Regions from separate parts of the Homo sapiens genome. Here all the other regions are linked to region 1. Evidence: promoter capture Hi-C in 16 types of primary human blood cells and fetal thymus (Javierre and others, 2016). All regions are on one chromosome and are shown on one strand. Each heading gives the region's core, a stretch centred on a gene start or on the middle of the fragment in contact. The rest is flanking DNA. Distances are from core to core; before and after follow the strand shown.

Region 1 (2,810 bases), core at 159-2,658:
TTATTACAACAAGTAGTTTCAAGTTAATAAACACAGTGCTTAATCAATAACCCAGTTTTTCTTCCAGAAGTATGTGAATCTTTAATCTCATATAACTTTCAGATAAAATCATAATTATAGAAAAGTTTGTTTTTTCTCATAAGATTTAAAAAGTAGAAGCTGAAAGTTATGTTCTGATGATTAAAATAAATTTAAAATTTTGTATAAATCACATTTATATCTTCTTAGATTTTAATTTCATAATTTAAATCAAATGATAGCATGAGTTTGAGTTAAACATTTCCATGTCATATTTATGATACATAAAAGCACAGAACAGGTTAAATTATTTTTGCTGCATTTGCTTCCTAATGTGTTCTTTTCCCTTTGAAGTGTTCATTGTAATATTTCTTAAATATTAAGTAGAGCCTTTTGCAATGGTTGTAATATTTCATGTTATACCTTTCAATTTAAGTCTTATTTTCAAAGTGAGTTATTCGTAGATACTTAGGACTATATAACTTCTTTCAAACCACATGCAAAACACTCTAAAGTCAAATAATTTCCATCAATATAAGAATACCAATTTTCCAATTGTATTTTGTATTAACTTAAATGGCATGGAAAAAATGCCAAACAGTTATATTAATAGCACACTTATTAGACTATGCAAATTCTGTTCTCAAAAAGGATCTGGAATATTTTTGTATTTTTCTAGAAATAATTTTCTACAAATAATGCTTCATTTTTCACTAAGTATCAATTTTCACTTTATTTGTTATCTTAACACAAACAAGAAAATAATACGGGGACTATTACAAGGGCGTGAGGGCCACCGCTTCCTAAGAGAATGAATGAGGATGAGAGTAAAACATTTTGAATGGAATGGGATTTAATGATGGGTTTGCAGGTTGACAGCCACTGCCTCTGTATTTCTCATTAGATAATGATCAGCCTAATTGAAAGTTTTGTAGGGTTTTTTTCCCTCTAGTTGTTGAATTCCAAAGGAGGTCGTGCAGTGTTTCATTGAAATCCCTTTTATTGCTTTGCAGATTTTAAAAGAGAAAATACATCTCTCAGTAATCATAAAGGCAGAGAAAGAGATACTCAGTTTCTGTCACTAAAAGGTAAATCCTGAATAAAAGGGAGCAACTCTTCTCCCCAGATACATTAACATAAGTAGCAACACACTGCAAAAGAGAAAAAAGAAATCACTTCAGGGAGTTGTGAAATTCTGTTTTGCTTACCTGAGCACAGACTCCAGGAGCTGAAAGCCAGGAGTAGCATGCATACAAGCTGGATTTTCATTCCTGCCATCATCTTTCAGCCTTCTAACAAGCCAAGTCCGTAAAAGTCAGAAGCACACTGAAGGGGGCTCTCTCTAGCACTTCCTCTTTCCTTCAGCTGGCTTTGAAAGTGAGTGAACTATGAGAGGTGCTCTGGCCATTCCCCTATATATATAAGCAGGAGGATGATGTCATTGATTGTACAGACATTATCTTTGCAGGATGTGCCCTATCTTCACCTCCATCCCTCCCCTCTTTGCCCTGCTTTCTCCTCCCCTTTTCCTTTGTCCCCCCTGCTCTCCTCCCCCATTTCTGAACCTTGAGTGAAAGTGACGATCTTCCCTAATTGCTGCTGCTGCTGCTTTGGATTTCTGACGCACAGAAGGAGTCATTCAACTGCACTGACATACAGCATACATACAGCATACTGACAAAGAACCCCCAGTATCATCCTTTTCCCACTTCTCATTCCCCCACTCCAAAAGTTGTCATTTTGATTTTGTGAAACATGAGATCTGTTATTTCTAATTTTTAAGGAAAATCTCCAGGATGAATGCATGAAATCAGTGATTCCTTAGGCTTGGAAGTTCTTGAAGAGTTAGGGTGCTTCTCTGGTAATTCAAACTTCTGAGCAAATGTTTAGTGGTTCCAAAACTAATACAGGTTTTAAATAATCCATGCTGGAATAAGATGGAATAGAGACAGAGAATCAGTTATAAAAATTAAGCAATTAAGTTTAGAGAATAGAAAGAAAATCAATAAAAAGAAATAATAGATCCAGGGAATAAGATATTATTTCCTAACAAATAGAAAATATTTTATTGTAAGTAATGAGAGATGACTGAACTATGTGTGCTGACTTTTGGTTGAATGTATTAGAAAAACAATTTCATGTTTATAAAATCCAGCTCTAAATTACTTACATTCTAGCAGGTAAAAATTTGTGTTGTTGTATCACTGACTTTTTTTCTGTACATTATCTCTTTTTATGCCTATATTTTTCTGCTCTTTTTGAATTCATTCTTGATGCCATGTCTCACTCTTTGTATAATTCCCTTCTCAACAGTTTTTACTATTGCATCGGCTTTCTTTCCCTGTTATAATACTCTTTTCACCATAAAAAAAGAGATTGTACTTTTGGAAAGGAGACAATCCTAAATAACCACCATTCACCAAAGTCACTTTTCTATGATAGTCTTCATGTATTTCATGAGTTACACTGATACCCATTCTTTGTCTGAGTTCTCAAAAGAAAATTGTTCAAAATGCCTTTTAGAGTAAAACTTTCTTCTTGTAGTAAGCATTTCAAGATACATGGGGTAATTTGACAAGTCAGTGCTGTTAGAGATGTGAATATTTGAATGTAAAGTTGTCTGAGTCTTGTTTAATTTTTAAATAAATCAATCATGTAGTAACAGTTGAGAAAAAATAGGATTGGTTCCTATAGATAATTGATTTATATTATACAATCTATGAGTTTAACTTTTTCACCTTTACCCAAAACTTAAGCAAAGCGATTAAATCCAAACATTTAATAATTACTTA
Region 2 (2,810 bases), core at 189-2,688, 340 kb after region 1:
AAGATCACGCCATTGCACTCCAGCCTGGGCAACAGAGTGAGGTTTGGTGTCAAAAAAAAAAAAAAAAAAAAAGTTGACATTCTTCCCATGGAGAAGTGCTGTCTCTGTCCCTTCCTCTTGAATAGATGCTGGCATGTGTCTGCTTTGACCAATAGAGTGTGAAGAAAATGATGCACTATTTCTTCCAAAGCTAAGTCATAAAAGAAATGCAGCTTGTCCCTGGATTTTTTGGTATGCTCACTTCCAGATGATTCCTTTAGATACACTTCCTCTTACAAACTCGTTACCATGTTTCCAGGGAGCACAAGCTACATGGTCAGGCCATATGTAGGGGCTCTGGTCAACAATGCAAGCTGAGCCCAACCTAACCCAGATACTAGAAATGTGGATTAAAATCTTTCTAAATAATTTCATACATCCATGATGACAACAACTATATAAGTATTCCCAGCTAAGGCTCCAAACATTGAGAAACAGAAATAAATTATCCCTACTGTGCCCTGATTGGATTTCTATATCAAAGAATATGAAGTTGTTTTGTTTTAGACCACTAAACTTTGGGATTATTTGTTAAACAGCAACATTGGGCAGTGGGCATAGTGGGCATACCAGCTTTAGCTTTAACTATGACCGAGAAGATAAAGCATTGAAACATTTTAAACAAAGATACAAGATCTGGCTTAATATATTTTGAGACACAATTTATCTATGAAAAAATGTATCTATTTAAAAAATTCAATAATTTATTGAAAAAATGGGTATTATCAGTGTTGCTTTATATATGTATTTTGTAATATATATTTTATAAGCAAGCCTTGAGTCAAAATATAAAGCCAAAATACTGAACACAGTTGTTGTTAGAGAACAGTAAGAACTGGATTTTGAACATTAAAAAGATTAAGTTATTCCATTAAATACCCTTAATCCACTAACCCAGATCCCATTGCTATCTGCAGAAATAGTCAATTTTTATTGACTATTTGTTCACCAAATCCTCTTATTTCCTTCTAATAAGTGGTAGCTGGGCTGGCAAGCTAGGAAGGAGAAGGGCTAGAAGAGTTGAGTGAATGTCCGGAGGCAACAGCACCAGACCATTCTCCAGCAGGCTATGAGATGGGTGGACAGGCCTAGGAAGTTGCTACTCTGGTCTCTTACCAAATGCAGTTGTGTTTTTGGAGGCTCCTGAGTTTTTCACTACCAGTGTTACTGCAGGTAACTTTGGTAGAGTTAGGCATAAAGAGGAGTATAGATCCCCATACGCATTGGAATAAGCCTTGAATAACAACCACATTGGTTACTATAAATAAAGTGTGTATGGGGCACTCGGAATGGGTAGAGGGTATTTGTTGTTTCACAGAGAACAGCAAACTCTTCCCATCTTCTTTATGGACAATTAAATAAAGGGATCAACTTTTTTAACAACTGAACAAAATATTAGACATGGGTGTTAAGCATTAGACTCAATATGCCTATGACATAATTTTAAAGCAATATATTGTCAATTGATCTTTCTTCAAAGGTAATGACGTGAGAAAGAAGAATAAGATAATATGAGGGTAATACTAGGTGTAATGAAATATCAAACACTGATATACTAGAGAGTGAGTGATTTCATACTACTTACACCACTTTTAATGGAGACTTAGAAGTAATTCAACAAAGTGTTTCAATTAAAGGAAATGTCAAACTTAAGCAATCAATTTCCCATATGAAATGTGAAAGAAAATACAATTTCTTTTTCTTATTCCCAGGAAGTAAAATATGCTCCTGTTTAATCTCAGCCTTCAGAGTTTAACAGTATTACATTGCTTTCCCTTCTCTATTGTGTGCAACCCAGGATAGAATATTACCTCTGTGTGTCTAAGCATGAATAGAAAGTGAAAACAGCCAGGCAGTCAAAGACAGTTCAGAGCTTATTGCATATTAGATAATCATTCATCAGTTTTCAGTTTCAGCTGTTTGCCTCTTCAGAAACTTTTCTTAAACAAGACCTCTCATCCTGTAGCCTTCATTACACATAATATTTTTTATGTTTGTAATACTACTAACAAGCGTTTATAGAACCCTTACTCTGTTCCAGTGAAGTGCTGAGTTACATGTGATATTTCATTTGTACCTGCCTATTAATTCTCTTAAGTATGTACTGTTGTCTCTATTTTGTAGATGAGGAAAGTAAGCACAGAGAGGTGAAAAACTTTTCTCCAACATTTCAACACAGAAAATCTATCTACAGTATTTAAGAAAGAATGCTTTCTTAAATACTTATTGCCCTATAGAGCTCACAGTTAACTGTGCTTATACATATATGTTTCTACATTATATGATCATATGCACATGAAGTATGACATCTTACATGCCACTAAGAATTTTTATTCACTCAAAACATATAGCAAGAATAAAGAACTAAGTCCAGTGTTACATATCTAATCAAAATTAATAGAAACCATGAATTAATCATACCAATCATGATAAAGAAACATTAAGGGAAATATCATCTAATATTTCCATTAAATGTCTTTAATATTAGAATTTATTATTTTTTATGTAGAGGCCAACTTTGCCTTTTGAAAGGACATTCCCTGAAGAAGGAGACTGACTTTCATGGATGGGTCTGAAATAAATTTCAAAAAGGATACAATAAAATAAATAGAAAAAGGCCGAAGAACATGCTTAGTGACTTCCACACTATGCCACTCGGAGCCCCTGGGGCCCCAGACGGCAACAAGCGAGTTAGCAGGCACTGTGAGTAGGCTGAGAAGGACTCTGAACTTGCCCCTACCTTTATTTAAGGGGAGGTGGCCCTGTGGCCA
Region 3 (2,810 bases), core at 151-2,650, 320 kb after region 1:
GGGATTGCAAATTTGAATTTTCTCCATTAAAGGAGTGAATCCCTGCTGCTGTGCAAACTTTAAAAGCTTCACTTTTACTTTACAACAGCATGCTTGCAAGCTTGGAAAACATTCAAAGAGCTGCTGCAAGTCAGGAAGTGAACTTTAAAAGTCTTGATCTGCAGTGGCAAAGGTCTGTTTGAAACAGTGAGAGAGAGTAGGTGATTTCATAGCATGTCTTGTTGAAGAGCTTGCAGAGTGAGTGCAATATGGCGTAAGTGAAGTCAGCATGGTACATATCTTTCAGACAGTATAATGTTCTTCCAAGGTGATCAAATAATCACTGGATGAATGTATTCAAAAGGAAAGAAAACAATGAAAGATCTAATTTAAGGTAAAAGCAGTGGGAAAACAAAGCTTGGGGTTTAAGCACTTCTTTAATAGGGCTGCTGTGAAAAGTTTCTATAGTGTGTGAAACGTGAGGCCAAGATAGTGCAGAACCAGACCCTTGTGTTAAAATACAAGAAAAAGAAAGCTTTATTAGGGAAGTCTAGTGCACTTACTCTTACACGTGCCTGGAACTCCTCAAACCTAGTAATTTAGCTTGTAAAATCATCACCATCATTCCACAATACCTCATAGAAAGACATTCTAATCAGTATAATAAGGTTTTCACTACCAGGTCTGTTTCTCCTTTTGTGATATCTAGCTTAAATTATGATTAAATGATAAACATAATAGTCACAATGCAATGTACACCCTAGTTAATTGTGAGATTATTTATTTTATTTCTATAACTATTGTTCAGATTCATCTGTTGCTGCAGGGAATTGAGAACTTAAGAAGAATATGAACAATTTATTTGACACCATGCTTTGTTCTTTGTATTGTCTTGAATTTAGTTCTCTGTCATAGGCTTGGAAGCGACCTCTAGACATTAGATCATCAGTTCTGCTTCAGGCAGGACAGATTTTAGCTATGCCAGATGGTAAGGCGTCGATCAAAAGGTTCCAGGAAAGGAGATCTACAAGTTTCCCTTGGAAACCTGTTTCAGTGCCAGTGCTCCTAATCCCACATTAGTATGTTCTCAAACATCTCCTGTCTGCTGATCCATACTCCAGGAATGTTCTGTCAATAACAGCAATGATCGTGAGCATCCTAAATCCCAGCAGCTAAAATTTAAGCTCATATACAGATGGCTGACTGCTTAACAGCATCCTTTGTACAATAACCCTTTATATGTTTAAGACTTTCAATTGTCCTTGGCAAAGGATATCATATAATGTAATGCACAACTCTGGGCGCAAACATGATACAGATTGCCTAAGAGCAATATAGACTGTATTGGAGTTGATTTTCCTTTAATGATCATGAATGGCTCACGTCCATTCATGATTTCTCACTCAACCTATGTTGTAACTAATGATGTAATGTTTAAAGATAGCTAGTTGGGGTTAAAGTACAAAGCTACCTTAGTTAAATAGACATATAGCTTTAGGGGCAAAGGATGTCAACATTTTATTTTTCACAAATATTGTTAACAATTGGAACAGGCACTTAGGCAGCAATGGTGGAAGAAAGAGAACTAAACTAATGGTTCCAAGCTCTATAGCTTCTCCTCCTGACTATGTAACAATGTTTTTTGTAAGCATATGGGAGAGAATTAAGTGGCAGAGACATGGTACTGTCTAAGAAAGGGATGCTTGCCTAACTACACCCACTCCAAGTAATGGAACTTCAAATCTTAGAATTTGGCTGTGGTCATTCAATCCATCCACGCGCCTGTATGTTTTTGACATCTAGAGCCTTTTTTTTAAATTTTTTTTTAAACGTGGGGGTTTATGAAGGTGACTAAAGTGTTTCTTGAAAGTGAATAAAATTGACTTTGAAATTAAAGCATATATATATGACAGACTATAAAGTACAATAATATATGGAGGGATTATAATGCCAACCTCATTTCTATCAGAGGAAAAACTGTTGTAATTCTTTTTGTACACTTTGCATTTTTCTTATTAAATGGATTGTCTTTAGAAAGTACCACATTACCTTGCTCTAAACTACCTGGTTGGGATGCTATTTGTTATTTCAGAACTCTTTTTGCTAAACATGGGAAGTTTTAATGCTCACCTCATGCAGTCTTTGTTTTTGAATTTTTATTAGTTGATTTCTGTGGGAGTTGTTGACTTCCTCCAGCAGGCTCTGCAAAATATCAGGCCTCAGTTTTGCTGATTTGCTGATTTGCTGATTAACAAAAATGGCTAAATTTGCTGATGGCTTACTGTCTCTCTTTTTAAACTAAGCTTGGGCTTCCTTGTAAAGGGTCTATATTTTCCTTTCCATTGTATTTGTAGGCAGTTTCGCAACGACTAGGGATATTTTCAAGCTGTTTTTGTGGAAAAAAACTACTTTTCCTTCTTGGAGTACAAGCTGAAAACAGCTTCCTCAATTGTTTAAATATTAACATGTATTCTGTATCCATAAAGAGTTTTTCATCATTTATCTATAGCAAGAGTAACTTTAACATCCTGTACACTTAGTGTTAAATAAATGCTATTTTATCTTATTTGGTAAATGTTGCTAATCTCTCAAGGGCTAGATTTTTTACCTGCTGTGGATAGAAAGTGCCATAATGTATAATGTATTACATCTATTATATTTATAGACTTACTATAATCTGAGAGAGTATGGTACTCAAAATACATGTCATATGAGCCCAAGAACCATTAGAATAATTCACATTTCCTGGGATTATTAACCATGATCAAACACGCTGCAGCAAGATGATATTAAACAGTAGGTTTTATCTTAGTTACCTTTTCCCTATGACT
Region 4 (2,810 bases), core at 102-2,601, 280 kb after region 1:
CTTTTGCTTTTCAGATAAGATGAGACAGGATGAGAGTTTTGAACTAAATAGTCACATTATTCAGGAGAGAGATTTCTAAGTACTCTTTATAGTGCTCCATGATTTACGAGGTTTCGCAGTCTGGCTGATGAGAAAAGATGCGAATCATTCCCCAGCTTCTGCTAATTTTCTCACTGGCAAATGCTGATGAATATTTTGCTCCCTATTCAAGGGAGGCCTCTGCAGATCTTTAGGCTTTTCTCTGTGTGCAGCTCTCTTTTCCTTGCTACTCTGTTCTGTGATTCTAGCCACCTTGATCTTCTCAGACTCTTGCCCTGTCTCCTCATCCCAGGGAATCTGTAGGTATCTATTTGACTTCCCTATCCTTTCACTGGTCTGGAATCTTTTTGAAAACAGTAGGCGGGGACCATGGTAGGGCTTATTATATTTGTTTTTCATCTTTACAGGGATCACTATCCTTTCTCGTTTCATCTCCAGTATCTTGAAAACTGGCATTTTTTTGTTTTTGTATAGTTTGTCTGGATTTAGTTGTTCGAGGTTGGAGGGTAAATCTTGGAAAGACATCAAAGAGCTAAGAGACATACCCTCTAGATTCACTCTCCTTATTTGTCTTCCTTAGCATCATTTATTCAAGTTTTACCTCTTACCTCTCACTGTATAAGAGGTAAAAACTTCTCCACTTTTCTCTGTCTTTCAGTTTTGGAGTCCTTAAGGAATTAGTGCTAGTTTTTTGTTTTTTCTTACAGTCTAATAAGAGTCAATATATGTAGAATGCTTACTCTTAGTTATTACATTTAATCCTTGCAAGTATTCTGTGATCAATGTACAATCATTTGCCCCAAATTAACCCCAACTTCACTAGTTTTATATAACTAGTTGGTGGTAGAGTCAGGATTTGAGTCTAGATATTCTGATTGCAGTGGCCTTGTTTTTAACAACTATGCTCTGTTGCTTTGTTTTACGTTGTTCTTTCTTCCTAGGTGGTCTCATATACATGCATTATTTGAATTACCATTTATATATATGCTGATGACTCTTAGGATCTAGTCTTTCAATGCTATCTGTTTTAGAGCCTTTCAAGTTCTGGTTCTGACCAGTTCTGATACTAGTGGTTTACATTATTGAAGGATGTTTTTGGCTAGATGCAAATATTCAAAGCTTTCCACTTTGTCAAAGTCCTTGGATAACAGTTAGAAGTAAATTACGTGTGTATATACACATAGAGAGCTATAGATATAGATGAAGGTAGATCTATAAGATTTAGATATATTGATATATATGTATATCAATATATACATACATTGTATATATACATGTATATATGTATAACAATATATACAATATATATACATATATATGTATATATATACACACTGAACAGACATGGTGCCAGCTCTCATGTATTTCACAATTGAGATTATAAGTAAACAAATAATTAAAACAATAAATTAAGCATCAGCACACAGAGTATTGTAAAGAAATGACATTGTATTGGGCTATGAAAGAGGAAAATATATGTAGTGTGATAAATTAGGAAAAGCTTCCCTAAGGAAATAACAGTTGAGATAAGACATGTAAACACATGAACAGACATCAACTTTCAAAGAGCTACTTTTTGAATGATTGAAAAAAAAAGAATATTAACAGATATAGCAATATTTGTTTCAATCTGTAAAGCCATCTTCCTGGTAACTAAAAATCCTATTTTGGAGAGAGGATCATTATTACCATTACCCAAAGAGTCTCTTCTTATCAATTCTGATAAATAATGCAAAGTTGAAATTACTCCTGATTAGTATTTATCTTAATTAGGATTTTAAATTCAGTTTGAAAATCATGTGTTGTATATTCAATGTACTCAGACGCCCATTGTAAACACTACAGGGAATAGGTAGAATCAGGGCCCACTTACTATGGGTAATTGTATTATATATCATCCACAGACATATACTGAGTCAGTTTTAGATTGATTGGTAGATGAGAAAGATACGTAAATTTTTTTGCTAATGAGTAAAAGGTAATAATTTCCCTAGTATGTAATAAATTGTTGTATTTCTAAAGCAAAATATTTATCAGTTATAGCAGATACTTAATAAACCTTAATTATCTTGCTCCTGGATGCTCTGCCTTAATAATTTTGCAAAGATATTGGCAAAAGGAGGGAAAATATTTGTATGCTATATATATATATATATAAAACTTTAAAATAATATAATAGAAAATATGTCCATAGCAGCAAGAACCAGAGATTCATCAAAGAAACTAATCATTTAACTTAAAAATATGTTAAAAATTTGCAAATAATGAACTTATTTTATGTACTTATTTGTTTTAGTTAAGTATATATATCTATGCTAAATTTTGTAAATTTAAAATAAGGGCTGTACTTCCAGTGTGTTTGTGAAATAAAATGTAATGGTATGTGTGTATTAGTCTGCTAGGGCTGCAATAACAAAATGCTCTAGACTAGGTGGCTTAAACAAACATTTATTTTCTCACAGTTCTAAAGGCTAAAAGTCCAAGATCAAGGTGCCAACAAATTTGGTTTCTGGGAAGACCCCCTCTTCCTGGCCTTTATGTGGCAGCTTTCTTGCTGTGCCTTCACATTACCTTTCCTCTTTGTGTGTGCCGAAGAGAGAGATCTCTGGTGTTCCTTCTGCTTCTCCTAAGAATCTCTGTTCTATCAGATTAGGGGCCCACCTATATGACCTCCTTTAACCTTAATTACCTCCTTAAAGGCTCTAGATCTTAACAGAGGCACATCTGGGGTTAGGGCTTCAACACATGAATTTGGGGTGAACATAATTCAG

What was found. The method cuts DNA at HindIII sites, captures the fragments that hold promoters and counts their contacts. A CHiCAGO score of 5 or more calls a contact.
Region 2: a fragment that was not itself captured here is called in contact with the fragment with the promoter of NTS in region 1 in 2 of 17 cell types (erythroblasts and megakaryocytes); the score reaches 6.5 in erythroblasts.
Region 3: a fragment that was not itself captured here is called in contact with the fragment with the promoter of NTS in region 1 in 6 of 17 cell types (erythroblasts, M0 macrophages, megakaryocytes and 3 more); the score reaches 8.5 in erythroblasts.
Region 4: a fragment that was not itself captured here is called in contact with the fragment with the promoter of NTS in region 1 in 2 of 17 cell types (erythroblasts and megakaryocytes); the score reaches 6.6 in erythroblasts.

The regions. Positions count from the first base shown.
Region 1 is chr12:85,872,893-85,875,702 of GRCh38, reverse strand. It overlaps NTS (neurotensin), which reads right to left and starts at 1,408. Exons shown (of 4, transcript NM_006183.5): 1 at 1,227-1,408. The coding sequence starts at 1,299. The HindIII fragment of the contact is 11,906 bases long and covers 1-2,810 here.
Region 2 is chr12:85,530,620-85,533,429 of GRCh38, reverse strand. No RefSeq gene overlaps it. Among named protein-coding and RNA genes, the nearest start is that of LINC02820, 210 kb to the right of the region's middle. RefSeq lists an enhancer at 1,756-1,815. The HindIII fragment of the contact is 3,569 bases long and covers 1-2,810 here.
Region 3 is chr12:85,548,384-85,551,193 of GRCh38, reverse strand. No RefSeq gene overlaps it. Among named protein-coding and RNA genes, the nearest start is that of LINC02820, 230 kb to the right of the region's middle. The HindIII fragment of the contact is 1,768 bases long and covers 517-2,284 here.
Region 4 is chr12:85,589,292-85,592,101 of GRCh38, reverse strand. No RefSeq gene overlaps it. Among named protein-coding and RNA genes, the nearest start is that of RASSF9, 250 kb to the left of the region's middle. The HindIII fragment of the contact is 382 bases long and covers 1,161-1,542 here.